6 separate regions of the Homo sapiens genome follow, and all the other regions are linked to region 3. Evidence: promoter capture Hi-C in 16 types of primary human blood cells and fetal thymus (Javierre and others, 2016). All regions are on one chromosome and are shown on one strand. The core of a region is centred on a gene start or on the middle of the fragment in contact, and the rest is flanking DNA. Distances in the headings are between cores, read along the strand shown. Region 1 holds the start of ZNF428 (zinc finger protein 428). Region 2 holds the start of NFKBID (NFKB inhibitor delta). Region 3 holds the start of MBOAT7 (membrane bound acylglycerophosphatidylinositol O-acyltransferase MBOAT7). Region 4 holds the start of PAF1 (PAF1 component of Paf1/RNA polymerase II complex). Region 5 holds the start of SDHAF1 (succinate dehydrogenase complex assembly factor 1). Region 6 holds the start of DEDD2 (death effector domain containing 2).

Region 1 (3,378 bases), core at 90-2,589, about 11 Mb before region 3:
CCCAAAGTGCTGGGATTACAGGCGTGAGCCACCGCGCCCAGCCTACTTATTTATATTTTTTAAGAGACAGGGTCTCGCTCAGTTGCCCAGGCTGGAGTGCAGTAGGGTGATCTGTAGGAAAGGGGCTTCCAGGCCTTAACTCATGTACTCCCCCATAACCAGGTTGGGAGGTTAGCTCACTGTAACCTCAAACTCCTGTGCTCAAGGTACCCTACTAGCCCCTAGGAGAGCAGCTGGGACTACAGGTATGCGCCACCATGCCAGGCTTAATTTTTACTTTTTTTTTTTTTTTTTTTTTTTGTAGAGACGGGGGTCTCACTATATTGCCCAGGCTGGTCTTGAACTCCTGGTCTCAAGCGATCCTCCTGCCTTAGCCTCCCAAAGTATTGGTATCACTGCAACTAGCCCAAAGAATTAATATAGCTATGTTCCATGTGATATTTGGGACATACTTTTCTAAAAGGTTGTATCTTTTGGATATAATTGTTTATCTGAAATTCAAATTTAACTAGACATTGTATATTTTATACGGCAACCACACACCTGGGACAATCAAGACATTCCCTGAAGTTACCAGGAGACAATGCCCATCAGCCTACACTTTTCCAAGCCCACGTCACACAAGGCCCCTTCCAGAGTATTCCAGACGTCAGGTAGGGCCATCCCTTGGTTCACAAGTCCCACTCCTACCACGCCTATGGCAGCCAAACTGAAAGGCAAACACAGTGCTGGAGACCCCACAATGCCCTGGGCCTATAGCAGTCAATTCCCAAGATGCCCCGCGTGAACACAATAGGCACCCGTTCCAATGCTCGAGCAAAGAGACCAGGGCAAAACCTTCCACTACGGGACAATAACGGCCAGTTCCCACAATTCGTTGTGGCAGTTCTTCCCAGGATGCCTTAGGCCTATAGCGACCACCTTCCCAGACTCCCCGTGTGGAAGCGCTCCAAGCCTCCAGGACGGTCAGCGGCAGGTGTGGGATAAAAGGAACCGGTCTCGACAAGGATCTGGGACACTCTTTCCCAGGATGCACCAGGCCTACGACTAGCGGACCGACTCCCACAGCGCTTCAAGGCGGAGCGCTCGGTTCTCCCAGGATGCCCCAGGGCGGCACAAACGCGTAGGGGGAGAAAAAGAAGCCCTCGGGTCACCACGGCCCCAGACCGCCGGCTCCCCGGTGACGGGAGTCGTCGCTCCCATCATGCAGCGGGGCCGTAGCGCCCGCTTCCCGGCATGCCTCGCGCACCCCTGCCCGGGACACTCACCGGCGCCGGCGGCCCCCGCTCCGGCTCTGCGGCGGCGGCTGCACGCCCAGCCTCTGCGCCTGCGTCGCAAGTAGGGTAGGACAGCGCGCAGGGGGCGTGAAGAGCCTAGGGCGCTTGCGCGGCGAGACGGACTAGTCCTGTAGCGCTGTGGGAAGAGGGGCTATGCGCGTCGGGCCGTCGACGAGACCCGCGCGGGGGGCGCCGTGCTTTGCCCCTCGCTGCCTGGGTTTACTTGGTACAGCCCGCGGCCCAAAGGAACAAGAAGCTGAAGGGTTCGCGCGTGCGTGTGCGGGGCAGGAACGCGCCTTACAAAACTGGGATGCGCTGGGGGTGGAGGGCGCTAGTTCGGACTGGATCCTGGGCCCGAGGCCTGCTTATTTGCATAATCCTAGCGCGGGACAATGAAAGGCCTCCCGCACTGGAAGGAGTGATTTGCATATTCCCCGGAGGGGCCTTACTCCAGAGCGCAGTGATTAGCATATGGCGGGGGCAACCTGAGCAAAGCGCATGCGCGCAGGGACTGCAGACTGACGCGAAGTGGGTAGCCTTGTCTTCGTAGGGGATCAGTTTGCATCCTGAGAGAGGGCACGAGGGCCAGGACCCCTCCCAACCAGGATAAAGGTTTATTGATCTCCTAGGTGTCAGGCCCCATGCTGGCGGATTCTGTGGTTTCTGCAGTGAACCATACTCCTGTACTCACGGCACCCCAGTCGAAGGAGATACGCACCTAATTAGACAACTACTACCCAGAAGGTCAGACCTGGAGTGAGGAACACAGGGGGCTGTGGGAGCCTAAGAGGCGCTTGCCCCGGCCTCTGGTTCTAGAAAGACTTCCAGGAGGTGGTGATCCTTAAGCCAAGTACGAATAGGAGCCAACTAGAATGGGAATGGGTCTGGCAGAATGAACTGCAAGCGCCAAGGCCCAGAGGCCAAAAAAAAAAAAAAAAAAATAGAAGCGCATGTTTTGATTGAGGAAGCAAGAGCAGCTTAGTATGCCTAGAACCTAACTGGAGACGGGAAATGGTTCTATAGACGATGTTAGAGTTCAACTATGGCTACATTCCAGTCTTCCTGTAAGTGACTTTGTCACATTCTGGCTTAAAACTCCCCCAAAGGGATCCCATTAGGAAAAAAAAAAAATCCAAAAATCTTTATCATGGCCTCAGGGCTATACACCTGGTCTGGCCGTGCTTATCTTTCTGACCCCACCTACTTCCTCCTCCCTCCATTTCTGTCCAGCTCCACCTTACCCCAAACTCTTTACCAGCTCGGGCCTCTGCTCTTGCCGTTCCCTCCGCCTGAAAATGCTTTTCCCTCTGACCTTTGAATACCTACTCTTGTGCTCACCATTCATATCTTGGTACAGATGTCAATCTGAGAGGCTTTTCCTGATCTCTCCATAATAGCACTTACACATTTGACTGGAGTTATGGATAAATCGGGATTGGCCATGAGTTGGTGGTGGTTGTAACTGGCATGAAGAGTACATGGGGCTGGGCGCGGTGGCTCACGCCCGTAATCCCAGCACTTTGGGAGGCCGAGGCTGGTGTATCACCTGAGGTCAGGAGCTTGAGACCAGCCTGGGCAACATGGTGAAACCCTGCCTCTATTAAAACTACAAAAATTAGCCAGGGGTTATGGGGGGTGCCTGTAATCCTTGCTACTTGGGAGGCTGAGGCACGAAGATCACTTGAACCCTGGAGGCAGAGGTTGCATTGAGTCGAGATTGAGCCACTGCACTCCAGCCTGGGCCACCCAGCGAGACTCTGGGTCTCGCCTGTAATCCCAGCACTTTGGGAGGCCGAGGCGGGCGGATCACGTCAGAAGATCGAGACCATCCTGGCCATCCTAGACCATTTCTACTAAAAATACAAAAAAAAAAAAAAAAAAATTAGCCGGGCGTGGTGGCAGGCGCCTGTAGTCCCAGCTACTCGGGAGGCTGAGGCAGGAGAATGGCGTGAACACGGGAGGCGGAGCTTGCAGTGATCCGAGATGGCGCTACTGCACTCCAGCCTGGGCGACAGAGCGAGACTTGGTCTCAAAAAAAAGAGTACATGGGACGTTATTGTCCTGTCTACTCCTGTGGGTTTGAAGTTTTCCATAATGACAA
Region 2 (3,220 bases), core at 437-2,936, about 18 Mb before region 3:
AGGGTCCTTAAGTCACCTAAATGCCGCGGGGGTGGCGCGCGGGGAGTGGGTTTGGGCACCCTCCTCGCCCTCCCGCGCGGAAAAACTGGCACATAGATGCCGCCTGACTCCTCCAAAGCCATTAGAAGATTTGGGGTGGGGCATCCGCCTCCGCCGTTTCCTTCCTTTTGCTCCGCACTTTCCCTCTGACCCAACTTTCCACCACCGTCGCGGAAAGTGAGGAAGGGGGAGGAGGGCACCCCTCTGCAGCAACCACCCCACTTCCGTAAAAAAATTCCACCCCCAGATATCCAAGTTTTGAAGTCAGCGGGTTGGTGGGGGGCCGGCGCCAGGCGTCACTCCCTAGACTCACATCCAGGTTCCCAACATTTTTTTCCCTAGAACCTGACCCGGAAATCAGGAGTCCCCAGCGCCCCTCCTCGAGAAGTCAAAGGCCTCACCCCGGGCCGGGAGCGGTGGCTCACGCCTGTAATCCCAACACTTTGAGAGGCCAAGGGGGGCGGATCACCTGAGGTCAGGTGGCCAACATGGTGAAACCCCGTCTCTACTAAAAATATAAAAATTAGCCGGGCGTGGTGGCAGGCGGCTGTATATCCCAGGTGAGGCAGGGGAAACACTTGAACCCGGGAGGCGGAGGTTGAGGTTGCAGTAAGCGGAGATCGCGCTACTGCACTCCAGCCTGGGCGACAGAGAGAGACTCCATTAAAAAAAAAAAAAAAAAAAAAAAAAGGCCCATCCATACAGTCTCTTTTTCAGGCCCCAGGAATCTGGACCCTCAGTTCCTTCCTCTCTAGGACCTGGGAGCCCCAGTTCCCAAACTCCTTCCCACGACTCAGAAAGACAGAACCCTCACCCTTCCGAGCCTGGGTTCCGGCGGAGGAAGGGTTAAGTGGGGATTGCGCGGGGCGGGGGCGGGAGGAGGTGGCTCGGAAACAGCCCCGACGCGGCGCGCTGACGCCACGGCGCTCACGCAAGGGAATCTTCCATCCTCCCCTTCCCCCCAAGTCCTGTGCCCCAGGTGTCCTGCTCCGAGGCGGGGCGCGCGGCCGATCGTGGCGCTCGTGGAATCCCCGCGCAAGGGGAATTCCTGCTCAGCCCCGCACGGGTGGCCATCCGGAAATCCCAGGGCGGGGCAGAGGCAGGGTCACCGCCAGCGTAGACCCTGAGGCCAGGCTCCGGACCCTTCCCCACCGAGACCCACGCCGATTTTAAGCAACCACGCCCCCCCCCCCCCCCCCCGCACTCAGCCTAGTCCCTGCTTCTAGGGGTAGGAGTCTCGGTTGCCAGCAACCCCTAGCACCTCCAAGGACCCAGAGATCCAGCCTCCCAAGCCTCCCAGCCCTTGCACCCTCGGGGCCCTGCGATCCTGGATCCCCAGGCCCCTGCACCCCCAGGACCCAGAAGTCTGGGATCCCAGCCGCCCCTCTGTCACGATCCACGATCCCCTCCTCCTCCAAACACCTAGGGCCCTCACTCTCGGGATAAAGGACTGACGCTTCAGCTCCGTCCCTCAGGGCCTCGGGAGTCTTTCGATCCTCAGTCCCTCACTCTCTTAGGGGGCCGAACGCGTCCTGCCCGCGCCCATTACCTCGGGGATTCCGTGGCGTGGATTGCGGGCCCCCAGGGCCGCGGCCTCGGCGCTGCGCCAGCCTCGCTGTTTCCCCCGCGGAGCCGCCGCCGGGTCCCCGATCTTGGGTCCGGTACCCGCGAGTTTTTAAACTAGGGGTTATGGCACCGCCCAGTCCTGGGCAGGGCCCGCCCACAGGCCTGGGAGTCCCCGGGTCGCGCTCCGGCGAACGCAGTCCCTGAATGGGCGCGGCGGACTTGGGAGGCGGACTACTCAGTCCCCCCGGGAAGGAGGGAGCTGGGGTCCAGATCTTTGCTCTGAAGGAGCCTAGGGCACCGGGCTCCAAGAGGAGGGAGAAACCGGGGGGCCTGGATTTCTTTTCTTTTCTTTTTCTTTTTTTTCTTTTCTTTTTTTTTTTTTTTTTTTTTTGTTGTTGTTTTTGAGAAGGAGTCTCTGTCGCCCAGGCTGGAGTGCAATGGTGCGATCTCTGCAAACTCCGCCTCCTGAATTAAAGCGATTCTCCTGCCTCAGCCTCCCGAGTAGCTGACACTACAGGTGCTGGACACCATGCCTGGCTAATTTTTGTATTTTTAGGAGAGATGGGGTTTCACCGTGTTGGCCAGGCTGGTCTCGAACTCCTGGCCTCAGGTGACCCGCCTGCCTTGGCCTCCCAAAGTGCTGGGATTACAGGCTTGAGCCATGGTGCCTGGCTGGGGCCTGGATTTCTGGGTCTGTGTCTAAGGGGGTGCTGGAGGCTTTGTCTCCTGGGTCCTGCCCATGGGGGTAGGGGTAGGAGTGGGGATGGAGATGGGGTGGGGGCAGGGAGAATATTACTGGGTCCAGAGGGAGGCAGGACTGGGGGTCTAGACTCCCAGAGGAAGGGTCTGTGGGTAAGGGTATAGGGTGTGGCTCAATTTCTCCCTCTCCCCTACATCACCCTTTTTAGAGGTCTGGTTTCATTTACTCATTCATCATTTAAAATAATTTATTGCAGCAGAGGAGGCATTTTGCTGTGTATTGTGAACTAAGCAGGCAGGAATTCCCAGCCCTGGAGCTGGCATTCCAGTGGGAGGCCACTCTCAGTTTCACTTGGTGACCTTTCACAGCACTGACCATGTTGGCCCTATTTCTCCCCTGCTTGCTTGCTTTTCTATTTTATTTTATTATTACATTTTTATTGTTAGAGAGAGGGTCTCATTCTGTCGCCCAGGCTGGAGTGCAGTGGCAAAGTGGTGAGATCTCGGCTCACTGCAACCTCCACTTGCCTCAGTCTCCCAAGTAGCTGGGATTACAGGAGCCTGACACCATGCCCGGGTAATTTTTGTATTTTTGTAGAGACGGGGTTTCACCATATTGGCTTGAACTCCTGATCTCAGGTGATCCCCCCACCTTGGCCTCCCAAAGTGCTGGGATTACAGGCATGAGCCACTGCGGTGGCCTCTCCCCTGCTTTCAAGATGCCATGCTCTCAGGGGTCCCCTCCCTCTTTCTCCATTTCCCTGGCAAAGTTCCTCCTCTTCCCCCATTCAGTGTGTGTTGTGATAGGGGCAGAATCCTGTCTGCACTCACTTCCTTGGTGATCTCACCCAGTCTTGTGGCTTTAAGTACCATCCATAAGCCATCAACCCCCAAATTTACATCTCCAGACCAGCCT
Region 3 (3,165 bases), core at 1-2,500:
AGTCCAGGTCCACACTGGGATCCGAGCTCCGAGTACGTGAAGGGGCGGGCCTTCGGGCTCGGAACAAGGAGGAGCCAAAAGCTTTGGACCCGAAGGGGAACAGACGGGCTCTGGAAAGGAGGCGGGGTCTGGAGCTCGGCGTGAGGAATGAGGCGGGGTCTCCCTTCGGGTTCCTTCGGGCACAATCGGGAGCTTGAGTTCTCCGGAAGCGGGGCCACAAACTTCGGCTCACTTCGGCAATAGTCGAGAACGGAGAGCTGAGGCCACTGTGGGCGGAGCCACATGTTTCGGCTTTCTTCGGAGGTAGTCGAGTCCTTAGGGTCACTGTTCCGATGTGGGCGGGGCCACAGACTCGGCCGGATGTGGGTGGGGCCACAAGCTTCGGTTTACTTCGTAGATAGTTGGGTACAAGTGACGCTAGGATGATAGGCGGAGTCAACAGGTTCGCCAGACACCCATGAGTATTTACAAGGGGGCGGGGCGAAAGCGACTTGCCCTCAAAGGGGCGGAACCCCGAGGGCCGGCGTGCGCCTACGGGACCGGGCCAGGATGACGATCCTCAAGTTCCCAAGTAGAGGAGAGGAAGCGGCAGAGGGAGGTGCGCTCAGTGGGGCGGAGCCAAGGTGGCCCCCGCGGGAGGAGGGCGGGGCTTCGGTCCTGCGAGGGGCGGGACCTGACTTCCCGCGGCGCTGATGGGGCGGGATGACGAAGTTGACGAGGGTGTCGGCATGAGGGGGTGGAGCAAGGAGCGCGTGGCGCGGTGCGCAGTGGGTGGCTCCACCTCGACTGCGAATTACTGTTTATGAGGTGACTCGCTGGTTCTATCGGTGGACAGTGGGACATTCTGAAGGGAGGCAAGGAGGCGGACTGAGCGCTCCCAATTGGGGTGAGCCCGCCCGAGCGGAGAGTGGACGGCGGGTGTCCAGGGGGCGGGGCTTTCGGCTGTGGGGTTCGGTCGTAGGGCGGGAACTCCCCAACTGGGGTGCGCTGGCGCTCGGAGGGGGCGGGGCCACAGGCCGCGAGGCTGCCGGGAGCCGATGACGCCCGAACGCCGAACCTATTGCGTCCGGGAGGAGGCGGGGCTACGGATTCGGCCGAGCCGAGAACACCCGAACGTCAAATTGCTGGCGTTCGAGAAGGGGGCGGGGCTGCGGATTCGGTGGAGCCGAGGACGCCCGAACGCCGAACTTCCTGTGCTCGGGAGGGGGCAGGGTTTTGTACTGTGGGAGTCTGAGAGCGAGGAGGTCCGAAAGCCGAATCACAGTCGTTCGGAAAGAGGAGGAGCGAAGGCTCGAGCGTCCGGAAGAGGGTGTGGCCTCGGCGGTGCCTTAGCCTCCAGAGCTTCTGACCGCTGACGGGAACACCCGAAGGGGGACGCCCACTTTGCAAGAGGGTGGTGCCAAAATGGACCTTTGTAAGGGGGCGTGTCGCCGCGCTTGCGGAGGTTTGTTTTTCACGCTCCAAGGCGCAATGGTAGGTACGGCAGTGCGGGCACAGAGCGGGTGCCGACCGCAGGGTCACAAGGGTAGAGCGGGACCCTGGGGGCTTGGCGAGGGGAGAGGGTCGGGGGCTTGTCTCCGGCGTCTCGTCTCCGGCGGCCGCGAGGCCTGGTGGGATCGCCCGGGGGCGGGGCCTGGCGCTCGGGCCCAGCAGGTGGTGAACGGCGGCTGAGCGAGGCCCCGCCCCCTGAGGCCTAGGGGCGGGGCTTCGCCGAGACCCCGGAGGCTTTGGGTGCGCTGCAGCGGTCCGCGGCGCGCAGCTGTTTCGGTAACTGCTTTGCCTCCCGGCTCCCGCAGGAGGATGCTGGTGGTGGAGGTGGCGAACGGCCGCTCCCTGGTGTGGGGAGCCGAGGCGGTGCAGGCCCTCCGGGAGCGCCTGGGTGTGGGGGGCCGCACGGTAGGCGCCCTGCCCCGCGGGCCCCGCCAGAACTCGCGCCTGGGCCTCCCGCTGCTGCTGATGCCCGAAGAGGCGCGGCTCTTGGCCGAGATCGGCGCCGTGACTCTGGTCAGCGCCCCGCGTCCAGACTCTCGGCACCACAGCCTGGTAAGGGGGCGGGGCTCGAACTCGGGTTCGGTGGGAGCGGGACCTGGGAGTCAAGTTTCCTGGCTTCTGAAGGGACCATAAGCTTGGAGGTTCCAGCGAAGTGTGCTTCTCAGGCCCTGACATCCTTCAAGCGCCAGCAAGAGGAGAGCTTCCAGGAGCAGAGCGCCTTGGCAGCTGAGGCCCGGGAGACCCGTCGTCAGGAGCTCCTGGAGAAGATTACGGAGGGCCAGGCTGCTAAGAAGCAGAAACTAGAACAGGCTTCAGGGGCCAGCTCAAGCCAGGAGGCCGGCTCGAGCCAGGCTGCCAAAGAGGATGAGACCAGTGATGGCCAGGCTTCGGGAGAGCAGGAGGAAGCTGGTGAGCATGGGAGGTGGAGTCCAGGGACCACGGGAAGGAGAGGAGAGATCTTTTAGGAATTTTAGCTGGGAATCCAGTGCCTGGGTCTCCCTGAGGGTGAGAAGACTTTACCCCTTGAATTTACCAAACTCTTCTCTGTACTCCCCACCAGGCCCCTCGTCTTCCCAAGCAGGACCCTCAAATGGGGTAGCCCCCTTGCCCAGATCTGCTCTCCTTGTCCAGCTGGCCACTGCCAGGCCTCGACCGGTCAAGGCCAGGCCCCTGGACTGGCGTGTCCAGTCTAAAGACTGGCCCCACGCCGGCCGCCCTGCCCACGAGCTGCGCTACAGTATCTACAGAGACCTGTGGGAGCGAGGCTTCTTCCTCAGTGCGGCTGGCAAGTTCGGAGGTGACTTCCTGGTCTATCCTGGTGAGTATGGGTTGGGGCCTCTGGTTGCTGTGCCTTTCCATACGATCCCAATGTATTCTGCGTTTTTCTTTTTTTTTTTTTTTGTCTTAATAGAGGTGGGGTCTCTTGTTGCTTAGGCTGGTCCCTATTCCTGGGCTCAAGCAATCCTTCCACCTCGGCCCCCCAAAGTGCTGGAATTATAGGCCCAGCTGCATTTTTCTTTTTTGTCTCACTTTCTCTTAGCCTCTGAAATTCATAGACAGACAGGAAACATTTGGGAGCTCCCGAACTCATTGGGCAAGCAGTTTAACGACTTTTATTAAATGATTACTGTGATCCAGAAGATTCACTTAGAAGTAGTTAGACATCAGGCTGGG
Region 4 (3,574 bases), core at 430-2,929, about 15 Mb before region 3:
GCTTGTAGGGCCCACCTGAGCCAGTCTCCAGTACCCATTTGCTACCCACTCACCTCTTGGAGCTGGTGGGGGCCTGAATCTCCTCTTCCAAAAGTTTCTCATCAGCTGGATCTAGAAGAACTAGAGGAGAGCGGGGGGCAGGAGGACCATGAGGGAGGCCCAGGCCTGAGCCTTTGCTGACCTAGAGCAGACCCTCCCTGTCTCCCCACACACCATTGGGGTCGATGCGGTAGGTGTCAGGATTGATGAGATCGATGGTGACCCCCAGGTCTGGCTCAGTCAGGAGGTCATGTTTGTGCTGTTTCTCCAAGGAAGTGGCTTTGTACTGGACGAACCTGGGTGGGGAAACACCTATTGTGGTGTTTGGATTCCAGCTTCACCCCTCACAGCCCTGCTTCCCAGAGGCGGAGCTTCTCTGGGGAGGAACTCAGAATGAAGTGTCCCCCATGGCAGAGTCTGAAAGCTGGCTCCCCAGTGGGAAGGGACTTGGACACTGCTTGCTCCATTAACAATTGAGCAGCTACTACTATGTGCTAGGGTAGGTACTGTGCTAGGCCCTGAGCAGACAGCAGCCAACGAGACAAGCAGTCCCTGCCTTCAAGGAACTCATACCTGAGTAGTTTTCCCATTCCTTAGTCTCACCTGTTCTGGTCGAAGGGGTAGGTGATGAACTTGGGGTCGAAGGGGATATCAGGGAGGCTATTGCAGTACTTGACTCGGCAGACCACTCCAGACCTAGGAACATTAGTGGCTCAAAAGTGGGCCCCCGCTGCCCCACCTCTGCTCCCAGCCCCACTGCCCCACCGCTCCTGGGAAAGCACAGTGGGGCTCACCTCTCAGGCAGAGTCCGGTGGGAATTGGGCCTAGTGGAGAAGAAAGAAACAGTGATAGGTGGAGAGGACGGGATTGACAGGAGAATGAAAAAGGCTTCCCCAACCTTTCAAAAGGTAGGAGGGGTGACAAATGCTGGTTTCTTTGGGTGGTGGTGTGGGGAGTGTCCAAATGCTTTAATGGAAGGAGACAAATGTTCAATTTATTTAGGAAGAAATGCCCCCAAAAGCTTTAATGAACAAGGCCAAGTGCTCAATCCCTTTTGCAGGAGATGGCTTCAAGTGCTTTAATAAAGAACCATGTACTCAATCGTCTTCGGAAGAGGGGTCTCCAAACGGTTGACTGGAGGGATCCCTTCTGGAGGGAGTCTCCAAAAGCCTAATCCCTGAACTGCACGGCGGGGAGGAGGGGAACACCTGAATCTCAGAAGGAACCCGCCCCCTTCGTCAAAGGTGAGCGCTTCATGACGTCACGGGCAGACCTGGGGGCTGGTGACGTTGTTCAGCAGAAACCCTCTCCCGATCCCCCGCCTTGCTGCAACAGAAAAGCGTGGCGCCTACCTGTGGCCATCCTCCCGCTGGGCCTGGGTCTGGATGGTGGGCGCCATAGCGACGAGGCGACGGCAGCCCGGACGGGGTCCTAGCGGGACCGAAGGGGGACGCAGAGGGGCGTGCCGACTTCAGGGGACGCCTGATCCGAGGAAGGCCCAGCTTGGCGCCGCTCCCCGCGGAAAGTGGGTTGAGATGAGGTGGGCGGGCGAGAAGAGCTCCAGCGAGACTCAGGTGAACGCGCAGGCAGCACCGGGGACGGACTCGAAGCTCCGGTTCCACCAACTGCCGCCAAGACGCTGAGGACCCAACGGGTCTCCTCAGGCCGCGACGCCTTCGGGGAAATGAAGTCCGGCTCGGAACCACACACGGATTGGCGAGCGTCTGGGTGAAGGGCGGAGCGAGGGAGAGAGGTGCTTCTGTGATTGGTGGAGAGATATCTCAGTCTGGACGCAGATTTGAGAGTGACGTAACGTTGGGGCACCTCCTTCCCCTCCATTGGCTTAATTGCCTAGGGGGCGGGACTAACTAGCAAACGGGGACTAGAAATAGGGATGCTGAAAAGCAACGGGGAGAGACGCAGTCGTAACGCACTTCCGGCGGTCTACGCGAGGAAGATGGCTGCATCCCAGCAGCAAGCTTCAGCGGCTTCCTCAGCTGCTGGTGTATCGGGTCCTAGTTCGGCTGGCGGCCCGGGTCCCCAGCAGCAGCCGCAACCGCCAGCACAACTGGTGGGCCCTGCCCAGAGCGGCCTCCTGCAGCAACAGCAACAGGACTTCGATCCTGTGCAGCGTTATAAGATGCTCATCCCGCAGCTGAAGGAGAGTCTACAGGTGATTGGCCTTAAGCAGCGAGAAGCAAACTGGATTTGGTAGTCTAGAGGGGCAGGCCGAGGGCCAGGTTAGTCGGAGAGAGCGCTAAGCAGAAAGAGGAATAGAACCTGCTGTTTTGGCCTGGCTGGTGCACGCCTGTGTTCCCAGCACTTTGGGAGGCCGAGGCGGGCGGATCACTTGAGGTCAGGAGTTCAAGACCAGCCTGGTGAAACCTCGTCTCTACTAAAAATACAAAAATTAGCCGGGCATGGTGGCGCGCGCCTGTAATTACAGCTACTCGGGAAGCTGAGGCAGGAGAATCGCTTGAACCCAGGAGGCGGAGGTTGCAGTGAGCCGACATCGTGCCATTGCACTCCAGCCTGGGCAACAGAGCGAGACTCCGTCAAAAAAATAAATAAATAAATAAATAAAACTGTTGTTTTCTGCGAGACCTAAGCGAAGCTCGGCAGAGATGGGATCAGCGCTGATGCTGAGGCTGGGACTGGCCGGAGCTTGAGTGAGGGGTTGTTTAAAGGAGAAACTGGGCTCTGGTCGTTAAAGCCTGAGGAGAGTACTGGCTTATACGGAGATTCTGCCCTTGATTGATAGGTGAGGGAGGACCCTTAGGTTATTGGCGAGAAGCTCAGGTGAGAGCGGGCCTCTGGGAGGATGGAGTGGTGACAGCTATAGGAATGGAAACGAATATTACTTTGGAAAGTCAGGAGGGAAGGTGCCAGTTGAAAAGAAAACCTGAGACTGAGTGATCTCAAGAAAGAGTGTAGATCTGCCAGAGGTATTCCCTTTTGTTTTTCCATTTCCCACGTGTTTTGTTTTTGTTTTGACTAGACCTTGATGAAGGTTGCGGCCCAAAACTTGATTCAGAACACTAACATCGACAATGGACAGTGAGTGCAGCCCCCTTTACCAGGATATTCTATTGCCTTCCCAGTCTTTGAAATTCATCTTTCCTTCTCCTGCTCCCCGCCCACCTCACCTTCTATATTTACTTTTTTTTTTTTTTTTTTTTGAGACAGGGTCTCCCTCTGTCACCCAGGCTGGACTACAGTGGCACGATCTTGGCTCATTGCAGCCTTGAACACCTGAGTTAGGAGATCCTCTTGCCTCAGCCTCCCAAGTAGCCAGGACTACAGACATGGCTACAGACTACAGATGCCTGGCTAATTTGTAAGATTTTTTTATAGAGACGGAGTCTTGCTATGTTTCCCAGGCTGGTCTCAAACTCCTGGCCTCTAGCCATCCCCTCAGCCTCACGAATCACTTCTCCTATTTTATTTTATTTTTGTTGTTGTTTTGTAGAGACAGGGTCTTGCCACGTTGTCCAGGCTGGTCTCAAACTCCTGGGTTCAAACAGTCCTTCCACCT
Region 5 (3,212 bases), core at 129-2,628, about 18 Mb before region 3:
AATTACAGGTGTGAGCCACCGTTCTAGGACATGTATTTTTGATAGATACATACACCTGCCAGGCAGGATTCACAGTGGTTTGTGATTCTCCCCTGACTCCAAGACTCCAAGCCTAATCCCCGCCCCTGACCAGCTTCTCCTCTCTGAAGGGGAATGGACCCCCCAGCTGGTTGCCGGCCCAAGTGTGCAGAGCCGCGGTTGCGCGCTGGGTGGAGGGGTCCCCCAAGCTCCGGTGCTGGTGGGGCCCGAGGATGCTGTGTCCTTGCGGGCCTCCCTAGCGCTACGAGGACACCTCCAGGCGGCCCGCGGGGACAACAACGGCATTGCGGCCTACCACCTAAAGCTCCTGGGAGGACAACGGGGTTGCAGTCTAGTCGACTGTTCAGGGTGTCCCGGACTCCGGGCTTTAACAGTCGGTAAGGACCCAAACACCGCTGTCCACTGCCCCGACTCCCACCCGCAGAGGGCGCGACCAACCCAGCTCCTAGAGCCACACGCTGCCTCTGGGGGCTTGGCGCCCACACTCTCTCTGCTTGTCTTCCCCTGGCCCGAGAAGCCTGTCCAACCGGCCGAGAGCCATTTCCCTACGGGGTCTCGTCCCTCTGCACGTGCCCAGGGCTGGGACCCCAGACACAGACCTGCCCCGGACGAGGGAACGCACGGAGCTTCCCAAGATGGTTTGAATCAGTAACTGACGGCAAAAGCACGCTTGTGCCCGGCGTCTCTCCCAGTGCCCCGTGCCCTTGGGACCCAAAGTCCGAACCGGTAGCCGGGCGCGGTGGCTCACGCCTGGAATCCCAACACTTTGGGAGGCTGAGAATCGTTTGAGCCCAGGAGTTCGAGCCATTCTGGGCAACATAGGGAGACCCATCTCTGCAAATAATAATAATAATAAATAAATAAATAAATAAATAAATAAATAAATAAATAGCGGGCGCGGTTGCGCGCGTCTGTGGTTCCAGCTACTAGGGGAGTTGAGGTGGGAGGATCGCTTGGGCCCAGGAGTTCGAGGCTGCAGTGAGCCAAGATCGCGCCACTGCACTCCAGCCTGGGCGACAGCGAGACCCCGTCACACACAAAAAAACCCCTAGCTTCCTCTTCTCCCAGAATGCAGGAGTTAGGTGAGGACCCTCTGTTCCCTCCAACCCAAGACCTAGGAGTCCGAACACATAACGCCCTCCAGGCGGTGCCAGGATCCCCAGAACTGCTGTCCCCTCAAGAACACACGTCCCCTACGTGGGAGGCCGCGACCAGCGACTCCGCCCACTTCTCCCAGCCGGCTGTTACGTAACTGCAACGACAGCCAGTCAGACGCGGCAGCGCCGGATGGCGGGAGGCGGGAGTTGGAGGCCAAGGGAAGCGCTGGGCGGAAGTGGCTGTGGCTTTGCCCTTTGGCCTTTGCTGGCTGTGTGGCGGCTCCGCGGTTCGCAGGTCGTTCGCTGAGCGTCTCTGCTTAGCCGCGGTCATGAGCCGGCACAGCCGGCTGCAGAGGCAGGTTCTGAGCCTGTACCGCGATCTGCTGCGCGCCGGGCGTGGGAAGCCGGGCGCCGAGGCGCGAGTGCGGGCAGAGTTCCGGCAGCATGCGGGCCTGCCGCGGTCCGACGTGCTGCGCATCGAGTACCTGTACCGCCGCGGGCGGCGCCAGCTGCAGCTGCTACGCTCGGGCCACGCCACCGCCATGGGCGCCTTCGTACGCCCGCGGGCCCCGACCGGGGAGCCTGGCGGCGTGGGTTGCCAGCCTGACGACGGCGACAGTCCAAGGAACCCCCACGACAGCACGGGGGCACCGGAGACCCGCCCCGACGGACGGTGACAGGCGAAGAGCCGAACTCGCTCGATGGCGTGGTGGAGCCAGGAGGCTCGCCTGACTGCATGGGGGGACTGGGGAACCCGCCTAAGGTGAGAGGTCTTAAGAGACTAGCTTGACGAATTGGGGATGTCAGAGACTCCTCCTTGGCGACGCAGGGGGCCTAGAGAGCCCCGTGATGGACGGCAAGGGAGGCCCGCCTTTTCCGATGCTTGGAGACAGGTCGGTGCTCCTCCCCCATGAGGGCTTGGGGCGGCCTGGGACGCTGGCGGGCTGGACAGTGTCAAGCCAAGAGCTACTTGCCCGAAGGTACGGGGAGCCAGGACGACCCCCGGTGGACAGGGAGAGCCTGAGACGCCCTTCTCTTGACCCCTGAGAACATACCCACTTCTGGCTCCTCAAGGAGTCTCCCCTCTCCTGTATTTAACTCTGAGAAGTGCAGACTTTTTGCTGAGAACGTTTTGGGAAGGTGCCCTGATGAGCGGTGAGAAGCCCGGAATCCCCTTCTGGAAAACTTTCCCCCATTAATTGTGACAAGCCAGGACCATGAGGAAGGGGTAGGGGTCTATCACCCTGGTTGATCAACTGAAGACCCCCAAAGGCCCCTACTTGATGGTTTTGAGGGGCAACATTGACTCATTTGCCCCTTCCCTCTCGGAATGTTGGACAAAGGGAATAAAATTGGGGATATGTCTACTTCCCTGTTGGTGGTCTTAAAGCTTTTATATATTTCAGGATTTTTGAAACACCCCCAGCCCCCCTGCCACCACACACACACGCACACAGACACCTGGAAGGGACCATCTGGGAGGTGATAGGTGTGGGGATCTGACTCCTTCCGGAGCCCTGTAGACTGGCACATTGATTGAAGCGGCATAGTTTTCTCCCCTGGGCAGATCTGTGGAGGGGGCTCATCCTGGCTTAACCCCCAAAGATACCCCAGTTGGCTCCCTAATGGAGGGCAAGTGATTTAACATCTTTGTGTGGAAGAGGAAATGGTGGAGCTGAGAACTGGCTCGGAGCCCCTGAGGCAGTAGTGAGGGTCTCAGACCTGGAAATTTCTCAAACCTGGCTGAAGGGTCCAGCCTCAGCTACAGTGAACGACAAGGCCCTGGGGCAGGAGAGGGGAGATGAACCCCATAGATCACAGATATACTCCCTCCGGTGTCCCCATATGGGCCTGCCCTAGACATTCTGTGGAGGGATGCATTTTGCATCGCTGAGCTATATTTGCACCCATATCAGTTAAATAAGTGGAAATGAGTTCTTGTGGATGTAGCTGTGGGTAGGAGGACCACAGGTAAGGAGCATAGACCTCAGACCAAAGGGAGGATGGACGGAAGAGAAACAGTCACTGCCCTAATCCCGGTGGGGGAGCCACATTCCCAAATGGTTATAAAGTGGA
Region 6 (3,166 bases), core at 408-2,907, about 12 Mb before region 3:
TGATGATGCCAAACTCATTCCCACCTCAGGCCTTGGATGCTCCCTGGGATTTTCTCCCCTGGGGTCTATGCATGGCTGGCAGTGCAGCCTCAGGGCAAAGCCTCCCTTCACCTTGCTGCTCTCCTGACTCTCTCTATTCCATTACTTTTAGTCTTCCTACAACAGCGTCTAAAAATAAGTTCTCTTATTATCTGATTGCCCCCACTAAACTTAAACTTCATGGAACAAACACCTTGTCAGCTCCATCATCCTGTATCCCTCCTAGGCCCAGCAAACAGGATTGTTATTATACGTGCAAACTGCTTAACTTCTCTGAACTTGTTATTTTCTTGGTTACAGTGAAGACAGTAACAGGACTTCCTTGTGAGATTACTGGGAGACTATAAGGCACTAGTTCATATGAAGGGCTGACAGCTGTGCCTGGCATGAAACAAGCCCTCCGTAAACAGTGGCCAAAATCATCATCACTGATGTGGCCAAATTCCCAAAGCCATGCTTTCTTCCTCTTATGTTGCTCATTGATATTGTGGGAAGAGAGAGTAGCAGAATGGGACATAAGCTGCCTGATATGGCACTGTCCGTATCAGGGCACCAGGGAGGCCCAGCGGGAGCCAGGCCCTTTCCTCCCAGGAAGTGTGACACCCTCCCATTCAACCGTACCTGGCCGGCGCCGCTTGCGCGCCAGGTGCGGCAGCAGGTCGTGGCGGGCCAGCACGCGCAGGAGTTGCCCCAGCAGCCGCAGGTTGCTCTCGTCGCACTGCCCGCGGCGCTCCAGCTCCAGCAGGAGCTCTAGGCCGCTGCGGGCCCGGGCTAAGCCTCCGGCGGCGCCAGGAGCCTCATCCAGCAGAAAGGCCAGGAGCTCCAGCTCGCACTCGGTCAGTTGCCCGCCCACCACCTCGAACATACGGTGAAGCGACAGCATCCCGTAGTAGTCCAGGCACTCATCCTCCTCCCAGCACGGGGCCGGGGTCGACCCGGATAGCGCCATTCCCGGGGGAGGGAGGCGGAACAAGCTCAGAACCCGGCCTAGAACCCACACAGCGGGGAGGGGGCAGTGGTCAGCGACGCGGAGGCCCGAACCCCACACCGCCAGCGCGTCTCCCCCGCCCAATCGCGCCGGGCAGGGCCGCTCCCGCACCCCCAACCGCCTCGGCCTCCCCCTCCCCCGGGAGGGAATGGTCCCGCCCGAGGTCCCCTAAGAACAGGTCGGGACGCCGGAGCCCGCTCGGCTTCTGCCCCCACCACCGTGCTACGTTCGGAGCTCGCCTCCGGACCTGACCAAACGATGCGGCCCAAACAAGCCTCGGGGCCCACCCCGGGGCTCCCTGCTGACTGCCCCTGACTCTGGGTAGGACTGCCCAGACGAGCCCCTTTTCTCCGTCCAGCGGTACCGTCTGATGAGTCCCCCGGCTCTACGCAAGTGGTACCTCCCGAAAGTGACCCTCTGCCCCCTACACAGAGGAGCGACCCAGGCAGCCCCTTTGCTCCACACAGGTGGTACCGTCCGAACCCGACCCCCTCGCCCTGCAAGGGCGGCCCCGCCCGCTCCCCAGAGCCCAGGTGGTCCTGTCTACCCGCCACCAGTCACCATTAGGCCTCTCTGGATCCTCACCAGATTCTGGCGTCCGATGACTCCTGGGCGACGGCCGCAGCCACTTGTTTTGGATCTTTCTGGCACCTTCTCTATTATTACGCCTGCGTCACCTCGCCCCTCCTCCTTCCCCCAACTCGCGCAGGTGCGACCGCCACGCCCCTTCGGCGCATGCGCAGAACGAGGCCTCCAAGCCCCGCCCTTCCTGGGCCGCTTGACCTGCCCCCAACCGAAGCATCTTGGTTCGCGAGTGCTGCGCTTGCGCAGAGCGAGAGCACGCCGCCTCTTGGGCTGTATCTGGTACCCGGTTCCAGGTCCCTACTTCCTGCCCGTGACTCAAGCCACCGGGGCCATGTAGCGCCACGTCACGAGTAGTTGTAACTACTCATCTCATAAACTACAGCCCCCTCCTGATCACGAGCTAGACGCCCACATCACCACTGCCCCTAGTTGCCCGTGGCAAAGTAACACAATCACTACTTTCCCGTCTCCCAGTAAACTCCCAGGCCTTATATGATCTGGTCCTGGGCACTCCTCCATTAGATTGTCCCTCACTTCTAGTGACAACCAGGGATCTACATCTCAACTGTGCTCTCTCGTGATCCCAAATGGAAATCCCGCCCCCCCACCACCACCCCCGCAGTCTATAAGTTCCTTCCCCTGATCAAAACCAGAATTCCCTCATCTCACGTTCAGGACGGATACCTCCTTCCAAGCGGCAACAGAACCCTCCATTCCGACTGTGTACATCTCGATGGCGTCCATCACGACCCCCATCACAGTCAGATGTCTCCACCCAGAGCCAAAACGGCCCCTCCGTAACCCCTTCCAATCTCTGCCCTCCAGGGTCGCCCAGATACCCGCTCCCTAACTTGCAACAACTAGAGAGGGTCTGTCAGGGAGTCTAGGCTGTGGTGTATGCGTGTCCCCTTACCGCGGGGCCTTGGGTGTGACGGTCGCCACGCCCCCCACTTAGGTGACTCAAGGTCAGGACCTGCATGTACTTGAGACAAGTCCCCTCCCTGGACCTCTTCCCACCCCCGCAATTAACTCCTCTTGGGAGTCGGGAGATCTGGGTCCTGCCTAGCACTGGCCCAGTACTGGCTCTGCCTGAGCTGTAGCAGTGAATTCAAAAGAATCGGCTGCGCGCGGTAGCTCACGTCTGTAATCCCAGCACTTTGAGAAGCCGAGGTGGGCGGATCACACGAGGCCAGGAGTTCGAGACCAGCCTGGCCAACATGATGAAACCCTGTCTGTTCTTAGCCGGATGTGGTGGCACGCGCCTGAAATCCCAACTACTTGGGAGGCTGAGACAAGAGAATCTCTTGAACCAGGGAGCAGTAAGCAGAGATAGTGCCACTGCACTCCAGCCTGGGCCACAGGGCGAGACTTTGTCTCAAGAAACAAACAAACGCCAGGTGCGGTGGCTCACGCCTGCATTCCCAGCACTTTGGGAGGCCGAGGCGGGCGGATCACCTGAGGTCGGGAGTTCGAGACCAGTCTGACCAACATGGAGAAACCCCATCTCTACTAAAAATACAAAATTAGCCGGGCGTGCTGACGCATGCCTGTAAT

What was found. The method cuts DNA at HindIII sites, captures the fragments that hold promoters and counts their contacts. A CHiCAGO score of 5 or more calls a contact.
Region 1: the fragment with the promoter of ZNF428 here is called in contact with a fragment that was not itself captured in region 3 in 1 of 17 cell types (activated CD4 T cells); the score reaches 18.3 in activated CD4 T cells.
Region 2: a contact is called between the fragment with the promoter of NFKBID here and a fragment that was not itself captured in region 3, in 1 of 17 cell types (fetal thymus). The highest score is 6.6, in fetal thymus.
Region 4: a contact is called between the fragment with the promoter of PAF1 here and a fragment that was not itself captured in region 3, in 3 of 17 cell types (fetal thymus, total B cells and naive CD4 T cells). The highest score is 18.2, in fetal thymus.
Region 5: a contact is called between the fragment with the promoter of SDHAF1 here and a fragment that was not itself captured in region 3, in 1 of 17 cell types (fetal thymus). The highest score is 5.6, in fetal thymus.
Region 6: a contact is called between the fragment with the promoter of DEDD2 here and a fragment that was not itself captured in region 3, in 1 of 17 cell types (activated CD4 T cells). The highest score is 9.2, in activated CD4 T cells.

Annotation. Positions count from the first base shown.
Region 1 is chr19:43,618,290-43,621,667 of GRCh38, forward strand. ZNF428 (zinc finger protein 428) reads right to left here and starts at 1,340. Exons shown (of 3, transcript NM_182498.4): 1 at 1,269-1,340. It overlaps LOC105372411 (a long non-coding RNA gene), which reads left to right and starts at 772. Exons shown (of 4, transcript XR_001753942.2): 1 at 772-1,343. RefSeq lists an enhancer at 699-1,349 and a silencer at 1,154-1,393. The HindIII fragment of the contact is 4,307 bases long and covers 1-3,378 here.
Region 2 is chr19:35,898,854-35,902,073 of GRCh38, forward strand. NFKBID (NFKB inhibitor delta) reads right to left here and starts at 1,687. Exons shown (of 12, transcript NM_139239.5): 1 at 1,589-1,687. The coding sequence starts at 1,649. RefSeq lists enhancers at 1-546, 559-1,115, 961-1,210, 1,116-1,671 and a silencer at 1,571-1,720. The HindIII fragment of the contact is 4,662 bases long and covers 1-3,220 here.
Region 3 is chr19:54,189,565-54,192,729 of GRCh38, forward strand. It overlaps MBOAT7 (membrane bound acylglycerophosphatidylinositol O-acyltransferase MBOAT7), which reads right to left and starts at 16. Exons shown (of 8, transcript NM_024298.5): 1 at 1-16. It overlaps TSEN34 (tRNA splicing endonuclease subunit 34), which reads left to right and starts at 1,744. Exons shown (of 4, transcript NM_001077446.4): 1 at 1,744-2,043; 2 at 2,157-2,400; 3 at 2,552-2,809. The coding sequence starts at 1,801. RefSeq lists enhancers at 1-29, 30-711, 2,680-3,165 and a silencer at 1,634-1,835. The HindIII fragment of the contact is 1,746 bases long and covers 378-2,123 here.
Region 4 is chr19:39,389,427-39,393,000 of GRCh38, forward strand. It overlaps PAF1 (PAF1 component of Paf1/RNA polymerase II complex), which reads right to left and starts at 1,680. Exons shown (of 14, transcript NM_019088.4): 1 at 1,392-1,680; 2 at 834-863; 3 at 643-735; 4 at 214-335; 5 at 54-120. The coding sequence starts at 1,438. MED29 (mediator complex subunit 29) reads left to right here and starts at 1,952. Exons shown (of 4, transcript NM_017592.4): 1 at 1,952-2,212; 2 at 3,038-3,096. The coding sequence starts at 1,997. It also overlaps a transcript of SAMD4B not described here. RefSeq lists a silencer at 338-469 and an enhancer at 2,007-2,296. The HindIII fragment of the contact is 958 bases long and covers 1,059-2,016 here.
Region 5 is chr19:35,993,810-35,997,021 of GRCh38, forward strand. It overlaps SDHAF1 (succinate dehydrogenase complex assembly factor 1), which reads left to right and starts at 1,379. Exons shown (of 1, transcript NM_001042631.3): 1 at 1,379-2,503. The coding sequence starts at 1,466. The coding sequence ends at 1,813. RefSeq lists enhancers at 342-841, 1,176-1,225, 1,486-1,565 and silencers at 1,626-1,685, 1,716-1,835. The HindIII fragment of the contact is 4,511 bases long and covers 1-2,524 here.
Region 6 is chr19:42,216,020-42,219,185 of GRCh38, forward strand. It overlaps DEDD2 (death effector domain containing 2), which reads right to left and starts at 1,658. Exons shown (of 5, transcript NM_133328.4): 1 at 1,613-1,658; 2 at 661-1,026. The coding sequence starts at 988. RefSeq lists silencers at 789-994, 1,076-1,135, 1,146-1,245 and enhancers at 2,017-2,893, 2,894-3,166. The HindIII fragment of the contact is 12,709 bases long and covers 1-3,166 here.